2 separate regions of the Homo sapiens genome follow, and region 1 is linked to region 2. Evidence: promoter capture Hi-C in 16 types of primary human blood cells and fetal thymus (Javierre and others, 2016). All regions are on one chromosome and are shown on one strand. Each heading gives the region's core, a stretch centred on a gene start or on the middle of the fragment in contact. The rest is flanking DNA. Distances are from core to core; before and after follow the strand shown.

Region 1 (5,252 bases), core at 1,513-4,012, 280 kb after region 2:
AAATTATTTTCAATAATTTGACTTTAGCTAGATGCATTATTCTTGAAACAGAAACTTTTCATTTTTAGAATCTTTATATTTTGAGGTCGAGAAATCTGAGATTGTTCAGATTTTTGTTTTTTTTGAGATGAATTTAACCTTTGTATTCTGTTTTTGAGGCTTGAAACTTTCTTTTTATGGTATAAGTTCAGAGATGTTATCAATTTTATTGAAGCTTATATAAGTTTTAATAAATTTATCATTGAGTTTATTTTAGCCCCTTCAAGTTTCATATTCAAAGTGTATAGTTAGAAAATGAAATGTTTTCCCTAACATTTTAACTGCTAACTCCCCTCTCCAACTTGTTCTGTTTTCTGAATTACCAATACCTATTTGTGTTGCCCTGGACATGCTGTGACATCAACTTCTACCATGCTCTCATCCTTTTAGCTTTCTTATTTACCTCCATTTCTAGAATGCTTCTCAATTTTGTCCTAGACATTACTGATAAATATTTCTGTATGCCCAAGCTCACTAGGTGCAACTAATGGTCATGATGTCTAAAGAATAAAGTTGTTTTAGTTGCCTATTCAAAAATTCAACCCTAACGCCATTCCCTAGAACAACTTATCCTCTTTTGTCCTTTATTTTACTTTATTTAAAAAATATCACCTTTAAATGTCCTATATATTTTAAATGTTTTATTTTCAACTGCCCCCCTAAAAATGTAAGGCATTGAGAGGTGGAATTGTGCTCATTTTATTCACTGCTGTTACCTAACTTCTTAGAATGGTGCCAATAATGAAGCTTAAAATGTATTATTTCATCATGTTCTATTCTGATTTAAGGGGTGCCGTTGTATTTTATTTTTTATTTTTGTTTAAATAGACTTTATTTTTAAAGCCTGTTTTATTTTTAAAATATTTTTGATTTACTGAAAACTTGAGATATAACACAGAGTTCTCATATATCTCACATTCAATTTTTCTATTATTAACAGCTCACATTCATGTGGTATGTTGGCAATATTTGTTTACTCAAAATCAATGCATTAGTTTCTAACAAAAGCCTATAGCATAGGCACATGTGCTTGGTTTTTATCTAATGTTCTTTTGCTGTTCCATTATCTCATCTGGTTTCCCATATACCTATGGCTGTTGTGTCTCCTTAAGCTCCTCTTGGCTATGACAGTTTCTCAGATTGTCCTTGTTTTCAATGCCCTTGGCAGTTTTCTGGAGGACTGGTCAGTGTCTTCAGAATATTTGACAAATGGAGTTTGTTTAATGTTTTTTTTCACACGATTAGGCTGGGGTTATGGATTTCAGGGAGAAACCTGACAAACGCTATTGTCCAGTTGCCCTTTTTAGTTGCTCTTTACAAGTTTCTATTCCTTGAAGATGGAATGTATACATGAATTAATTCTAAGAGAGGCTTATCTTTTCTCCTGGCATTAATTTACAATTTATTTATTTCACTATAGCTCATGGATGGTTATTTTATGCTTTGGGTACAGATAACAGTATTGTCTTGTTTGTTGTGTTTCTCAAATTGTTTCAGTTTTGTGGGAGTTTGGAGTTTTATTGTTTGTTTGTTTGTTTCAGTTTGTTACTTTCTGGCACTACAAGGTGCTCCAGGCTCATCTTTTATATTTCCCACCCATGCTCTAGAATTGGTCATTTATTTCATGAGCTCTGGTTCCTTATATTAAAAAAGTGAAGGAAACTAAGATCTGCTGGGTGTGCTTGTTATTCTTAGGAATTTATAGTTTCTAGGCCCTCTTAACTGACATAATACGGGAACATGTGATTATAATAACCCAGGCATATACACATATTTATAAGTTTTTCTATTTAACCATCTGAAGCTATGTTAGGCCTAACTTTAGTTCATAGCAATGTTTCCAACCATAATACCTTACCACCTGGATCATTCTAGCCTCCTCATATTGCTAATCAGTAAATTCTCACTCCAACAGCTCCCACCACTCACTGCCTATTTGATTAATTGCTTAATTTTAGACACACGTATAGCAGTTTCAGAATTACTAACCCAGATCCCTGGTGGATATTACTTTTGAAATGAGAATACAGTGCTTAGGAACAGTTCCTTCTCCATTTTTATACATACATTTCTAAAATGACTTAGGTCAGCATATTTCCCTCCACCTTCTTTGGGGATACCTTTTCATAAATTTGTAATATAGTTTGATCATCTTGTTAGAATCTACATTCCTTCCTGAGAGCCTCTGACCTCCTAAATGGTTTTCTTTAATTGAATACATGATGGTTCATTCTTTGCGCTGTGAAGGTCTATAAGTTTTGACAACGCCTAATATCATATATCTACAATTACAGTATCATGGAGAATAGTTATCCTGCTCTGAAAATTCCCTCTGCTTCACATAGTCATCCTTCATCCCCTCCCTCTTAGAAACCATCTTTCTATAGTGTCTATAGTTTTGTCTTTTCTAGAATGAGACATATTTGGAATCATACATTATGTAAACTTTCCAGATTGATTTATTTAACTGAGCAATGAGCACTTAAGCTTCCTCCGTGTCTTTTTATGACTTAATGGCTAATTTCTTTTCATTGCTGAAATAATATTTCATTGTATGAACGTACCAGGTTTTTAAAAAATCCATTTACCTAAAAGAATATGTTGATTGCTTTCAGTCTTTGGTGATTAAGAATAAAGCTGCTAAAACATTTCACCTGCAAGTTTTGGTGTGAACAAAGATTTCAATCAATTGCATATATATCCCAAAGTACAATTGCTAGATAGTATGGTAAGACTCGTTCACCATTATAAGAAACTGCTTCACTCTTTCAGGGTGGCTGTGGCACTGCACCTTCACTCAAGCAATGGATGAGTTTCTATATCTCCACATTACTGCCACCATTTCATATTGTTGTTGTGGATTTGAGCCTACCCAATTGGTGTGTGTGTTTTGTAGATCTTTGTCCCTTTCTTCCACTCTTCTTGTTTGCATCTATGAACCAGTGGTTTTCTGTGATGCTAAGCTTTGTTTCATTTTTCTTTTTTGTTTGCATGTCTGCAGTAATTTGTTTCTTTCTGGTTACCATGAGTCTAACATAAAGAATATTGGATCTGCAATAGACTTGTTTTTTAAACTGATAATAACATTACTCACATAAGAATATTCTAGACTTTTTCTCTACCCCCATAATTTATATTTTTGTTGCCTTAATTTACATCTTTATCTATTTTGTTTTTATTAGCTGCTAATATTAGCTGTTGTTATTTTTGACCATTTCGACTTTCAACCTTCATACTGCAGAAATTTAAGATTTACATAGCACCAAACATCACTGGAGTATTCCAACTTTGATTTATAAATTCAACTCTACTAATGAGTTTTATACTTGCACATGTTTTCATTTTAGTATTTATTTATTTATACTTTCAGTTGCAGCATTCTCTTAAGCACTTTTTGTACGACTGGTCTAGTGGTGATGAATTCCCTCAGATTCTGCTTGTCCAGGTAGTTCTTTATTTCCCCTTCATTTCTAAAGGATAACTTTGCTAGATCTAGTATTGGTGGTAGTTTTTTGTTTTGGGGGAGTTCTTTGAGCACAGTGAGTATATCATCCCATTCTCTTCAGGCTTGCCAGGTTTCTGCTAAGAAATCTCCTAATCATTTGATGGGGGATTCCATTTTCTGTGACTTGACTTTTTTCCCTTGCAGCTTTTAGAGTTCTCTTTGTCTTTGACAGTTTGATTAAAATGTGCCTTAAAGAGTTTCTTTTTGGGTTGAATCTAATCAAAGTTCTTTCAGCTTCCTGAATCTGGATGTTCACATCTGTCCCAAGACTTGTGAAATTTTCAGCTATTATTTTATGAAATATATTTTCTGTGCTCTTATCCCTCTGTTTTCCTACCGAATTACTATAATGCAAACATTTAATAGCATCGCATAAATCCTTTAACAGAGGATTTTTCTGTTTCTCTTCTCAATTCTTGCAGGTTACTCAGCTTCACTTATTCAAATTTTCAGTTATTGGGAGTATCTGTAGTTGTGCTGATACATGCATGAGTGGTTTATTTCATGACACTGAGTTTAACAAAGTTTGTCCCTGAATGTGGTTCACTGGCAATTTTGAAACCCAGGCCCAGACAGGGAGAAAGAACACAAAAGACTGATCAGTATTTCACAAACATTAACATACTTAAATGCACTTCAATAGGAGGGTGTTAGGACTTTCTATTTGAGAATTCACAACCTAGCTTGAAGATATTTTGTACTTTATTAAAAGATATAATATTTTAAATATATTTAGTTATAAAGCAACTCCTGAGTTGAAGAAAGCTCAAAACAATATAGGAAAAAAAATACATTTTTAAGAGAGATGGTATTATGAAAATGAAATGGGATATTGTTTGAATTCTCACTATGTCACCAGCTATTTTATATTTTGCAATAAATGCAATGCACTGACTGCTCAGTCATTTCCAATGTTATTCAAATTCTGATCTCAATCAACATAATTTTTAAAAATTAGGATGATACATAAGTACAATAAAACTCTTGATTGGAGAAAAACATTTTGTGTATTATATGTTAAAGTGAAGATATAAAATAGCATTTCCTGAATTGTGGTAACAAGGCCAATATATTTTGATACTTTTAATATGTTACTAACAAATGTTGAAAACAAAGTAAGCCAATTAAGAAAACTGAAACACTTACATCAATTGACCAAAAGCAATCAATGAGCTAGAAAGAAACCATTACCACAACTTCCCACATGGGGCAGATTAACAATGAAGTGACATCTGAAGAGATTTAAAACATTCTACAACAGACTAATAACAGTTAAAGTCTTATAATACATATTGGTTTGGCTGTTTCAGCATAATCACAATACAGATTTTAATCAAACTTGGTTACTTACAAATTATTTTGTTTGAATGCAGCTTTATAAAATGAATCTGCCAAGTAAATAAAATAAAATTAAAATCCATGCAGAAGAAAGGATTTAACATTGTGGCATTTCTTTTTATTTCAAGTTAATACTGAGAAGAGAAAATAAAGCATCTGAGAAAATTATTTAAAATAATAATCTAAAAAATTCTCATGGTTTCTTAACAGCTAGTGATTTTCCCTTGGGGAACAATTATAGTCCTGTAAGCAGAGGGTATTCTAAGAATGATTATTGAGATTTGGAAGGGAACATACTACTAGAGATAGTAAAACAGCAAAACTAATCTAAAATGTCAGTACAGACAGTCCCTGATTTATGATTTGACTT
Region 2 (5,315 bases), core at 1-2,500:
ACCACACACCCATAAAGCGACATCAGCGGTCTCCAGGGCGGAAAGGGGTGGAAGCTGACCCTCGCCCTTCCCTCCAGCGCTGGCTTCAGGTGTGCCTTCTGCTACCTCCTGTACTGCGAACAGGGGCCCGCCGAGCTCCGGGAGCCCCTAGAAGAGGAAGACTCCTCTGGCCCCACTAGGTATCATCCGCGCTCTCCCGCTTTCCACCTGCGCCCTCGCTTGGGCCAATCTCTGCCGCACGTGTCCATCCCTGAACTGCACGCTATCCTCCACCCCCGGGGGGTTCCTGCGCACTGAAAGACCGTTCTCCGGCAGGTTTTGGGATCCGGCGACGGCTGACCGCGCGCCGCCCCCACGCCCGGTTCCACGATGCTGCAATACAGAAAGTTTACGTCGGCCCCGACCCGCGCGGGACTGCAGGGTCCGCCGGAGCGCGGCGCAGAGGCTTTTCCTGCGCGTTCGGCCCCGGGAAAGGGGCGGGAGGGCTGGCTCCGGGAGCGCACGGGCGCGGCGGGGAGGGTACTCACTGTGAAGCACGCTGCGCCCATGGATCATGTCTGTGCGTTACACCAGAGGCTCCGGGCTCCACTAATTCCATTTAGAGACGGGAAGACTTCCAGTGGCGGGGGGAGGACAGGGTCGAGAGGTGTTAAAGACGCAAAGCAAGAAGGAAATAAAGGGGGGCCGAGAGGGAGACCGAGAGGAAGGGGGAGCTCCGAGCCCACGCTGCAGCCAGATCCGGATGAGTCCGTCCTCCGCCCCGGGCGGGCTCTCGCTCTCGCTGGCCCTCAGCGCCGCGCAGCCAGCAGCATCCCCACCGTGACGCTCGCATCACACCCGGGCGCCGGCCGCCACCATCCGCGCCGCCGCCGTCAGGACCCTCCTCCCGGGCATCGTCGCCGCCGCGGGGTCGGGAGGACGCGGCGCGCGGGAGGCGGCGGTCGCAGGGCGAGCCCCGGGACGCCCCGAGCCGGGGCCGGGGCCGGGGAGAGGGCGCAGCGAGGTGGGGGCCAGTCCAGACCGACGGCAGCGACGGAGCGGGCGGCGGCGGCGGCGCCGGCGGCGGCGGGGTGGCTCAGTCCCCAGTCTCAGACGCGCCGCGCAGCAGGTCGGAGCAGCCTCCCCGGGAGGATGTCCAGCGGCAGCGCTCCTCGCTCCAGCCCTTGGGGATCTTCCGCTGAGGCATTGAAGGCAGGAAGAAGGGGTCCGTCATCGGCTCGCCGGGCTGCGCGCCACCTCTGCTATCTTGCGGAAAGAGGAGCGGGTGGGTGGGCGTCTGGGAGGCGGGCTGGAGGGCGGTGCAGGGGAGCGGGGCGGCCGGGGGGGGGGCCGGGGGGCGGGGAAGGGAGGGAGGAGAAAGGAGCCGGAAGAGGGCAGAGTTACCAAATGGGCTCCTTAGTCATGGCTTGGGGCTCCACGACCCTCCTGGAAGCCCGGAGCCTGGGTGGGATAGCGAGGCTGCGCGCGGCCGGCGCCCCGGGGCTGGTGCGCGGCAGAATGGGGCCGCGGCGGCGGCAGCAAGGACATCCCAGCCGCGCGGATCTGGGGGAGGGGCGGGGAGGGGGTGAGGACCCGGCTGGGATCCGCGGCTCGGCCCGCCAGGGCGCAGAGAGAGGATGCAGCCGCAAATCCCGAGCCGGATCCTCGTGCCGGACGGAAGGCGTGGAAGCGGGAGGGGCCTTCGTGTGAAAATCCCTTGTGGGGTTTGGTGTTTCACTTTTTAAAGGTTAGACCTTGCGGGCTCTCTGCCTCCCACCCCTTCTTTTCCATCCGCGTAAAGGAACTGGGCGCCCCCTCTCCCTCCCTCCCTGGGGCGCAGGTTTCGCCGCGGACTCCGCGCTCAGCTTGGGAGACACGGCAGGGGCGCGCCCCAGGGAAAGGCGGCCGTAAAAGTTTCGCGGTTGAGCACTGGGCCTGATGTCCAGTCCCCCCACCAAATTACTCCTGCAAAGACGCGGGCTTCTTGCAATTGAGCCCCCCACCTCGAGGTATTTAAAACCACCCCAAGGCACACACGGACCCCCGTTCCCCCGCGCCACTTCCTCCTACAGGCTCGCGCGGCGCGTTAAAGTCTGGGAGACACGAGTTGCGGGGAAACAGCACCGGAAGAGCCCGGGCTTGTAAAATGCGAATCAATGAATACGAAATAAGGGCAACCGCGAGGCAGCGCCGGGAAGGGCTGGAGCGCGCGGGGGTGCAGGGAGTCCCTCCCTGGGCGCCGCAACGGCACCTCCTCCCTTTCCCGGCTCCGTCCCGCCCTCCCTCGGCCTCTGCGGACGCGACCCACGCAGACCACAGCCGAGCCCGCCGGACCCCGGGACTACGGAAGCCATCCCGTCCGGCCACCCACACCCGCGCCGCGGCTGGGGCTTGGGTTGGGGACTGTGGCGGCGAAGAAGCCGGGGTAGGAAGAGCTAATGGCAATGGCGGGGTCGCCGGGGGGCGGGGGGTCAGCAGCAGACGCTGAGCTGTGAAGACTAGGGTGGCCCCGAAAGGCCGAGGAAAGGAGAAAGGGCCATGAGAAGAGTCTGGCGAGCGCTCGAGGCCGGGGGGCTGCCTCCCGGCTCTGGCCCGGCCTCCGCTTCCCGGCACCTGCTGCTGGGGCGCCCACGTGCGCGCGGGGCTGCGCGGGGCGTTGGGTGCTCGTCGCAGTCCTGCCCACGCCTAGCGCAGCGGCTGTGAGTGGGTGGAGGTCTCCTGCCAGTAAGTTGGGATGAGGGACGATGAGGTGACCCCCAAGTCTGGAAGGGATTCAGAGTCTCACACGCGCCCCCAAGCCTCCTACCACCACACCAAAGTGCTGGTTCCTCGATTTCCAGGGTGGGGTAAAGTGACCGAGCAAAGGGGATGGTGTGTTTGTGTGTGCGCGCGCATATACGCGCGCGCGTGTTGTGCATCCGTGTAATGAAAGTTGGGTCATGGGTCAACCCGGGAGTAGAGCGAGATGGAGACCTAAAGAGAGAAAGCTGAGAGAAGGGGGAAGACATGGACAGGGTAAGAGAGAGAGAAAGGAGAGAGAGAAGAAAGGGAAAAGAGGAGCGGGGAGAGAAAAGAGAGGCAGGAGAGAGAATGAGGGGACAGAAGAGAGTAGGGAGACGAGAAGGCGGAGGACAGAAGAAATGGGGGAGAGGGAAGAGGACAGAGAGGCTGCGCGCCTCTGAATACGCCAAGTCCAGCAGAGCTGGAGGCCTGTGAGAGGAGCTGCAAGCTTGAGCAAAGGGAGAGAGGTGAGCGGATGAAGGGAGATTGGTGAGTATCCGCCCACGCACCTACTTGTAAAAAGATCAAGGGGAAACACGCAGAAGGTCCCGCGGGAGTCCTGTGACCCACGTGAGGTGCTCGTGCCAGCGCGGGGTGGGAGGTGGTGGGCAATGTTCGTCGTGGAGTTGAGGAAGAAATTCTCCAGCCTTAAGGAAGCAAAAGAGTTCAAAGATCAGTGAGGCTGCTCAACAGAGGGATATGCAGATGACAGAATGCTTGGAAAACGCTTTTGGGGATCCGGGTCATCTATAGAGGAGAGGGTGGAGGTCTTGCAAAAGGACCAGTCGCAAGAGTTGACAGTTGAATGTTGGAATCTTTCTTATGGTTGGATGGCACTTTCTTTACATCCAAAATATGCGTTATTCGTGAAGATGACACAGTTCTACAAAGAAAGTGGCAACATTTAAAATTATTTGTAGAAAGTTACTGCATTTCTCAATCACAGTTTGAAGGCAGAGAAAACTTGGTTTTACCATAAATGCTCTCATTCACCTGCCCTCTTCTGTCCTCTTTGCCCAGAACAGTTTCCCAGGACACTGGGATTTTGTAACCTGCCAAGGAAGGGGCTACGTTGCTAAACAAGTAGTCCTTTTATGGGACACAGGAAATTAGGAAGGAACTCATAAGGAAGGTGAAAGGGTCCTAACCTTTTGTCCACGCCTGTATTTGAAATCAAATATCTTGCATAAACAGTGGTCTCCATTTTTTTTCTTTTTTTAATGAATTAAAGGCTGGAGCGCAGTGACTGGATCACAGCTTGCTGCAGCCCCAACTTCCTGGGCTCAACTGAGCTTCCCACCTCAGCCTCTGGAGTAACTGGGACTACAGGCACAGGCCATCATGCCTGGCTAATTCTTTTATTTTTTATATTTTTTAGAGAGGGGGTCTAGCCATGTTACCCATGCTGTTCTCAGACTCCTGGCCAAAAGTGATCCTGTGGCCTCCCGCTGATCTTTAATGCCCAGTGCTTTCTCGGGCAATGCGTGGGGCTGAGGCATTAAATTTTGCTGAAACCTCAGTGCTGAGGGAGTGAGTGTGCACGTTCTGGACCTAGGACAGGACAGAGGCCTGGCTAGCTCAGGTGCTCTGATAATCAACCAAGAGACTGGGCCAACACAGATGCTGAGGCCCGCGCTGCACTCTCCTACTCTTTCCAGGCTGCAAGTGTAGCATTGTTATTGACAATTCCATTCATTTTTCTTCATACACACCCATACACGCTTTTCACCATCCACTACATCCTGTTTACTTGGCAAGCTGCCTTCTCATTTTTGAGTTCCAGAATCCACACTTGCTGAGTAATGCTACCTCCCTAATAGGGACCCATAAGATTTTTCTTTCTGAGAAAAAACAACATATGGGAAAAGTTCAGTTTCTCCCAGAAAAGGTTGCGCAAACATATGGTCAAATTACAAGATGATGTCGTTATTTTGAAAGGAAGAGCATATAAACTGATAGCTTTTGTGAGTTGAGTGTGCCATCCTGGAAGATGGTGCTTTGTCGCAGTTCCCCAAGGTTAGCATTGAAATAGTGACTACTATAGAAGATGGTGCAGAATTAAAGCCACTTGAACCCAATGAAGGTGTCATTAGTAAGTTGGTTTTATTTCTCAGCTTGCAGCTTCCTAACAATGAAAGATCATATGGACTTCCAAAATCCTAAAAAGAATTGGCGTAGGGTACAAGCCCTTCTAATTCAAATGCACATAGTATTTGTCTACATACATGTACTTCTCTATAGGAAAAAATAAAGCTACAGTTCTACCAGGGCTCCTTTGTTAATTAATCTCCAGTACTGGCATCATCTTAAAAGTTGTCTATCAGTAAAAGAGGTGATGCTACAAAAAATAACTCAAATGTAATAGTGCTAATGACACATCCATATTACAATAATATTTTCTGATTTTTACATAATTTATTTACATGGTTGTGAAGTGTAAAGGTTTTTGCATTTAACAATATATGTCATAATACTAGTTTCTCAAAAACAAGTAATTTGCTGGTAAATATAGGAATGTTTTTTGAAAATTCTCTGAAATAGTCTAACATGAAGCT

The links. The method cuts DNA at HindIII sites, captures the fragments that hold promoters and counts their contacts. A CHiCAGO score of 5 or more calls a contact.
Region 1: a fragment that was not itself captured here is called in contact with the fragment with the promoter of NETO1 in region 2 in 2 of 17 cell types (total B cells and naive B cells); the score reaches 5.9 in total B cells.

What each region holds. Positions count from the first base shown.
Region 1 is chr18:73,145,667-73,150,918 of GRCh38, forward strand. No RefSeq gene overlaps it. Among named protein-coding and RNA genes, the nearest start is that of LINC02864, 120 kb to the right of the region's middle. The HindIII fragment of the contact is 476 bases long and covers 2,525-3,000 here.
Region 2 is chr18:72,866,737-72,872,051 of GRCh38, forward strand. It overlaps NETO1 (neuropilin and tolloid like 1), which reads right to left and starts at 1,251. Exons shown (of 11, transcript NM_138966.5): 1 at 528-1,251. The coding sequence starts at 555. NETO1-DT (NETO1 divergent transcript) reads left to right here and starts at 1,652. Exons shown (of 2, transcript NR_134648.1): 1 at 1,652-1,726. The HindIII fragment of the contact is 9,933 bases long and covers 1-3,206 here.